Linked DNA regions of Homo sapiens: region 1 is linked to region 2. The links are contacts of gene promoters, found by promoter capture Hi-C in blood cells and fetal thymus (Javierre and others, 2016). All regions are on one chromosome and are shown on one strand. The core of a region is centred on a gene start or on the middle of the fragment in contact, and the rest is flanking DNA. Distances in the headings are between cores, read along the strand shown. Region 1 overlaps OCLN (occludin). Region 2 holds the start of MARVELD2 (MARVEL domain containing 2).

Region 1 (2,995 bases), core at 418-2,917, 85 kb after region 2:
CTGAGGTGGGTGGATCACCTGAGGTCAGGAGTTTGACACCAGCTTGGTTAACATGGTGAAACCCCGTTTCTACTAAAAATGCAAAAATTAGCCTGGCCTGGTGGCATGTGCCAGTAATCTCAGCTACTCAGGAGGCTGAGGTGGGAGAATTGCTTGAACCTGGGAGGTGGAGGTTGCATTGAGCCGAGATCACGCCATTGCATTCCAGGCTGGATGACAGAGCAAGACTCCTGTCTCAAAAAAAAAAAAAATCAGTTTACATTTTAAAAATGACTCATTTATGCCACCAATATAGTCACCCTTCAGTATCTGTGAGAGGTTGCTTCCAGGACCCCCATGATACTAAAATCTGAGGATGCTGAAGTCCTTGTTATAAAATAGCTTTGTATTTGCATATGGCCTAAATGCTCTTGTATACTTTTTTTTTTAATTGTTTTTTTGAGACAGAATCTCACTCCATCATCTAGGCTGGAGTGCAGTGATGCAATTTTGGCCCACTGCAAACTCTGCCTCCTGGGCTCAAGCGATTCTCCTGCCTCAGCCTCCTGAGTAGCTGGGATTACAGGCACCCGGCACAATCCCAGTTAATTTTTGTATTTTTAGTAGAGACAGGGTTTCACCATGTTGGCCAGGCTGGTCTCGAACTCCTGACCTCAAGTGATCCGCCCGTCTTGGGCTCCCAAAGAGCTGGAATTACAGGTGTGAGCCACTGCACCCAGACCTCTTGTAGACTTTAAATAATCTCTAGTTATAATACCGTATACAATGTAAATACTATGTAGAATTGTGATATTGTAGTTTTAAAAATCTATTTTTTGTTTTATTGTTTATTATTTTTTTAGACAGGGTATTACTGTTACTCAGGCTGGAGTATAGTGGCATGATCACTCCAGCCTCAACTTCCTCTGCTCAAGAGATCCTCCCATCTCAGTCTCTTGAGTAGCTGGAACTTACAGGGATGTGCCACCATGCCTGGCTAATTTTAAGAAAAATTTTTTGTGGAGATGGGGTCTTACTATGTTGCTGTGGTCAGTCTTGGACTCCTGGGTTCAAGTGATCTTCCTGCTTCAGCTTCCTAGAGTGTTGGGATTACAGGTGTGAGCCACTGTACCTGCCCTGTAATTTTTAATTTTTTTTTCCCCTGAATATTTTCTGTCTGAGGTTGGTTGAATCAGAATTTAAAACCCATGGATGTGGAGGGTCAGCTGTATTTGAAAATGGATACAATATACCTAAGTGCCTAAGCACTGAAATTTCTTACTTTCAGGATAACCACCTTATGATGAATGCAGTTGCCCATTTTCTTGAAGACTTTTTCTTGTGGTTTTTTTCTTTCTTTTTTTTTTGAGCCGGAGTCTCGCTCCGTCGCCAGGCTGGAGTGCAGTGGCGTGACCTCAGCTCACTGCAACCTCCTCCTCCTGGATTCAAGCGATTCTCCTGCCTCAGCCTCCTGAGTAGCTGGGGCTACAGGCGCGCGCCACCAAGCCCAGCTAATTTTTGTATTTTTTTAGTAGAGACAGGGTTTCACTATGTTGACCAGGATGGTCTTGATCTCTTGACCTCGTGATCCACCCGCCTCGGCCTCCCAAAGTGCTGGGATCACAGGCGTGAACCACTGCGCCCAGCTCTTTAAGACTTTTTCTTATCCCAGTGCAGAGGTCAGGATTATTCCCGCATTTGAGTGCACTTAGAGGAGATAAGGAATTTGTCTCAGATTGCGAGCCAGTAAATGGGGGCTGTTAAAACCACTAGGTTGTTTCAAACTCATCATTCTGACATTACAGAGATCTTGCTTAGTGTTGATGGCCCTAGCCAATGGGTTAGTTATCCTTTCCAGTGTGTTTGGTCAGCTGCAAATCTGGATAAGCGTGTCTCCTCCACTTTGTCTGTGTTTACCAGTGGAGACCTCCCACCAGGTGGACATAAATGGTTCATTCTTTTGTGCTAATTGGGTGCCGTAATCCAGCCCCTTGGGAATCTGCCCACCCACACAAGGATGTGCTCAAGATTTTCAGGATTCTTTCTCTCTGCATTCCCTGAAGAGGAAATAATAAAGGAGAAAATAAAATCCACCAGTTTGGTAACCTTCCCAGAAAAGGAAATGAAGTTGGTGTGGCATGACTTGTTCTTAACGAGCTTTCTTTTCTTTTTTTTTTTTTTGAGACGGAGTTTTGCTCTTTTTGCCCAGGCTGGAGTGCAATGGCGCAATACTGGCTCACTGCGAACTCCGCCTCCCAGGTTCAAGCAATTCTGCTACCTCAGCCTCCCAAGTAGCTGGGTTTACAGGCATGCACCACCACGCCCCTCTAATTTTTTGTATTTTTAGTAGAGATAGGGTTTCACCACATTGGTCAGCTGGTCTTGAACTCCAGACCTCATGTGATCCACCTGCCTCGGCCTCCCAAAGTGCTGGGATTACAGGCATGAGCCACATGATTTGGTTCACAATTTAAAATCCGTGCTTTTGGGGAGACGTGACAACTCTGAATCCTGGAAATAGCAGTTTGAAAAGGGATCTTGTTTGAATTTTTGACAACTTAAGACTGAGTCTGGATTAATTTAGAGTTTCCAAAACTACCACTGAACCTAGAATTTGGGGATATTTGACATTCAGCTTCAGAACTAGGATCCCACATTTAATAGTGCTTAACTTCAGATTTTCTGTTTTACTTTTTTTTTTTAAAGGAGTCTTGCTCTGTCACCCACGCTGGAGTGCAGTGGCACAATCTTGGCTCACTGCAACCTCCACCTCGGGCTCAAGCGATTCTCATGCCTCAGTTTCTCAAGTAGCTGGGATTACAGGCACGTGCCACCATGCCCAGCTAATTTTTGTATTTTTAGTAGAGACGGGGTTTTGCCATGATGGCCAGGCTGGTCTCGAACTCCTGACCTAGGGTGATCCACCTGTCTCCACCTCCCAAGTGCTGGAATTACAGGTGTGAGCCACCTCACCTGGCCTAAATTCAGTATTCCTTAATGTTCTTTTTCTGAAGAC
Region 2 (2,965 bases), core at 151-2,650:
ATAGAGATGGGTTTTTGCCATGTTGGCCAGGCTGGTCTTGAACTCCTGGCCTCAAGTGATCTGCCTGCCTTGGCCTCCCACAGTGCAGATAGTACAGGCATGAGCCATCGTGTTCAGCTCCTTTTTGTATTTTAAGTTGTAGGAACTTATTCAGTTTGTCATTTACCTTGTAGTTTTGTTTTTATAGTTAAAGGGACTAGCTAAACAGCACAATGTAGGTAAATGAAAGATGGCTTCATAATCATCACACTCATGGTGTAATTTAAAAATCTTCTCCTTTGGTTCTTATTAATGCCTGCACTGTGAATCTGACAGATTGAAAATGGAAGCCCTGACTGACAGGGAACATGGAATGATAGACCCTGACAGCGGAGATGAAGCCCAGCTTAATGGAGGACATTCTGCAGAGGAATCTCTGGGTGAACCCACTCAAGCCACTGTGCCGGAAACCTGGTCTCTTCCTTTGAGTCAGAATAGTGCCAGTGAACTGCCTGCTAGCCAGCCCCAGCCCTTTTCAGCCCAAGGAGACATGGAAGAAAACATAATAATAGAAGACTACGAGAGTGATGGGACATAGAAGCCAGCCTGCTAATCAGATTGCTACTTCACAGCTTCATTTTTGTTTCATTCAGTGGTACTTCAGCAGAGTTAATATGCTTTTCTGATGAATTACACAACAGTTTGTTAATTCTTCATTCTTGTAGTATTTCATCACAAGAAACCTACTCTTCTGTCATCTTGAAGTAAATAGAAGATCAAGCCTTCAAATCTCTTAATTTTTTCGGTATTTATTAAATCTGTGAGTGGTTTAAGGAGCGGTCAGTGTGTATAAAGTGTGTTTGAACATTATGCCAAATATCAAGATGTGAAGGACTAATTCAGGATGCAAAAACGTTATTGGGGGGTTGTAAATATCAACTATTCAACAGTTTAGGATGCAATTACGAGTGTAAACTGTGTGCCTTATTTACACTTTATTGTCTCCCGCTTCTCAGATAGTTTTGATGTGTTGTACAGTGGAATATCTTAGATACTTTTTGGAAAGTATTTACATAAGTTATATCACAATTAAAATGTTGAATTTAATTTTGTTTCTCCTGTCTTTTAACATTATCTAGCACGCACTCGCTGCCATGGGTCCTTAAGCACAGTGCACCAATCTCCCTCCCCCAGTGTCAAACTTTTCAAAAGATAGGGAAGAGGATGGCAACGTTGCGATGAGAACTGTAAACTCTTTCCAAAAGAGCCCAGTGTGTGGTCATTGCCGCGACGTGCCGGCTGGTGGCACCGAGCAGCCTGGGCCCAGAGCGGTTGTCGGGCCGACAGATCCGGGCGGGGCAAAGCCGGGCGGGGAAAGCTGGGCTCGTCCCGTCCCGGCCCCGCCCCCACCCCGGGAGCCCGATACCGGTTTCAGAGTCCTGGGCAGCGTGCGCGCTCTTCCTGGCGGCTGCGCAGGTAAGTGGGACCGGGGTGGGGCCACGTGACCGGGAGAGGAGGGCCCGGCGGCCCCCGGCCCAGGTGTGCTGCGACGGACGGCTGCCCGCGCTCGGCGCTCAGCCTGCCATAGCCCGCGGGGGAGGCCGGAGCCAGGGATCCGGGGAGGCCCGCGTCCCGCCAGGTTTCGCTCTGCGGACGCAGGTGCGGCCGAGCCGCCGTCCTTCCGGGCGCGGGGCGGGGCGCGCACCTCGGGGCGATCTCGGTGCTCCTTACCTGGGAGGTCTCCCGGCTTAGTTTCGGCCTCGTTGGGTCGGAATCTCCAAAGACAGTGGGTTTCAGCCAGAAACGCGAAGACGAACGCCTAGCCGGCGCGGGCAGAACCGAGGACACAATGAGATTTGTGGGACCGGGCGCCCAGAGGCTGGCGCGGGGGAGACCCCACAGCTAAAATGCTCGGTACCCCCGGGCAGTCGTGGGTTAGTTAGAACCGCAGAGCCTTTCCCGACCCCTCGGAAGCGCAGAAGTATCCGAAATCTACCCGTTTCTTGGGTCCAGCAAAACTTTTAAGCCAGGTAAACCGGTGGTTCTGTTTGTGTAAAGGTGACCAGGCATGATTCCTGTGACACTTTGCTGGGGCAGCCATTTCTCCTGCCATTGCCGCGGCTTTCCAAGATGAGTGTCCAAGAGTGGAGTAAGGGTCCGGGGCCTGAGCAGGACAAAGACACACGCTGCCGCGACCTGCGGGACCAGAACGAACTCTCAGTGACATCTTGAAAGACATTAGGGGTATCCAGATATTTAAGATGTAATGAAATACAGCTAACCATTCCCTTCTAAAAATCACATTATCTTGCTTTTCCACAACTCTTTAATAATTGCTTGTTTTTTCTTTAAAAATGGATAGGGTGGTTTGATTCAAATAAGCCACTTCACAGGTGAAGAGTTAAATCCATTACAGTGAATCGTATTTTTACCAGTGAGTTGAATTAAGCATAGCGTATCCTGTAAATGCTGTGTAAAACTTGCTAAAATCATTTGTTGTGCTTTTGCTTCTACATTTCTTAGGAATGTGTTTCAAAAACTAGAGTCGTAATAGCATTTCTAGAACTTACACTTTTTTAGAGAAAGAAAGAGAAAGGTACAAAAATAACTGATTGTTATAATATACAGAGCCGCTTTGCATTGGGCACCCTGCTGGGGCCATCACAGTTAATCCTCTAAGGTCGGAGTGCCCTATTAGAAGACCCTGGGTTTCCACCGCATTCCCTTGTCTCCAGTCTGTACATACCCTGTGTGCCTTGCTTGCCCTCTTAACGTCTCTACCTGGATTTTTAACGCATCTGAAACACTCTTCAGTCTGCTGCTCCCCAAGGCTAAGCTGGAGGGGTGGAGAATGAGGTATAGATAGATAAAATGATCAGATGTCTGGGGTTTACTTCAGAGGACTCTATTGGCAGAGGAAATAGTATGGGGAGTATAAATGAAACAAGTTTGGCCATAAATCGATAAGTGTAGAAGCTGGATGTGG

Evidence for each region. The method cuts DNA at HindIII sites, captures the fragments that hold promoters and counts their contacts. A CHiCAGO score of 5 or more calls a contact.
Region 1: a contact is called between a fragment that was not itself captured here and the fragment with the promoter of MARVELD2 in region 2, in 1 of 17 cell types (neutrophils). The highest score is 5.3, in neutrophils.

Annotation. Positions count from the first base shown.
Region 1 is chr5:69,498,258-69,501,252 of GRCh38, forward strand. All of the region lies in intron 1 of OCLN (occludin), which reads left to right. Among named protein-coding and RNA genes, the nearest start is that of OCLN, 7.0 kb to the left of the region's middle. RefSeq lists an enhancer at 1,525-2,074. The HindIII fragment of the contact is 5,611 bases long and covers 1-2,995 here.
Region 2 is chr5:69,413,716-69,416,680 of GRCh38, forward strand. MARVELD2 (MARVEL domain containing 2) reads left to right here and starts at 1,401. Exons shown (of 7, transcript NM_001038603.3): 1 at 1,401-1,455. RAD17 (RAD17 checkpoint clamp loader component) reads left to right here. Exons shown (of 19, transcript NM_133338.3): 19 at 316-1,086. The coding sequence ends at 577. RefSeq lists enhancers at 1,178-2,061, 2,062-2,944. The HindIII fragment of the contact is 19,290 bases long and covers 1-2,965 here.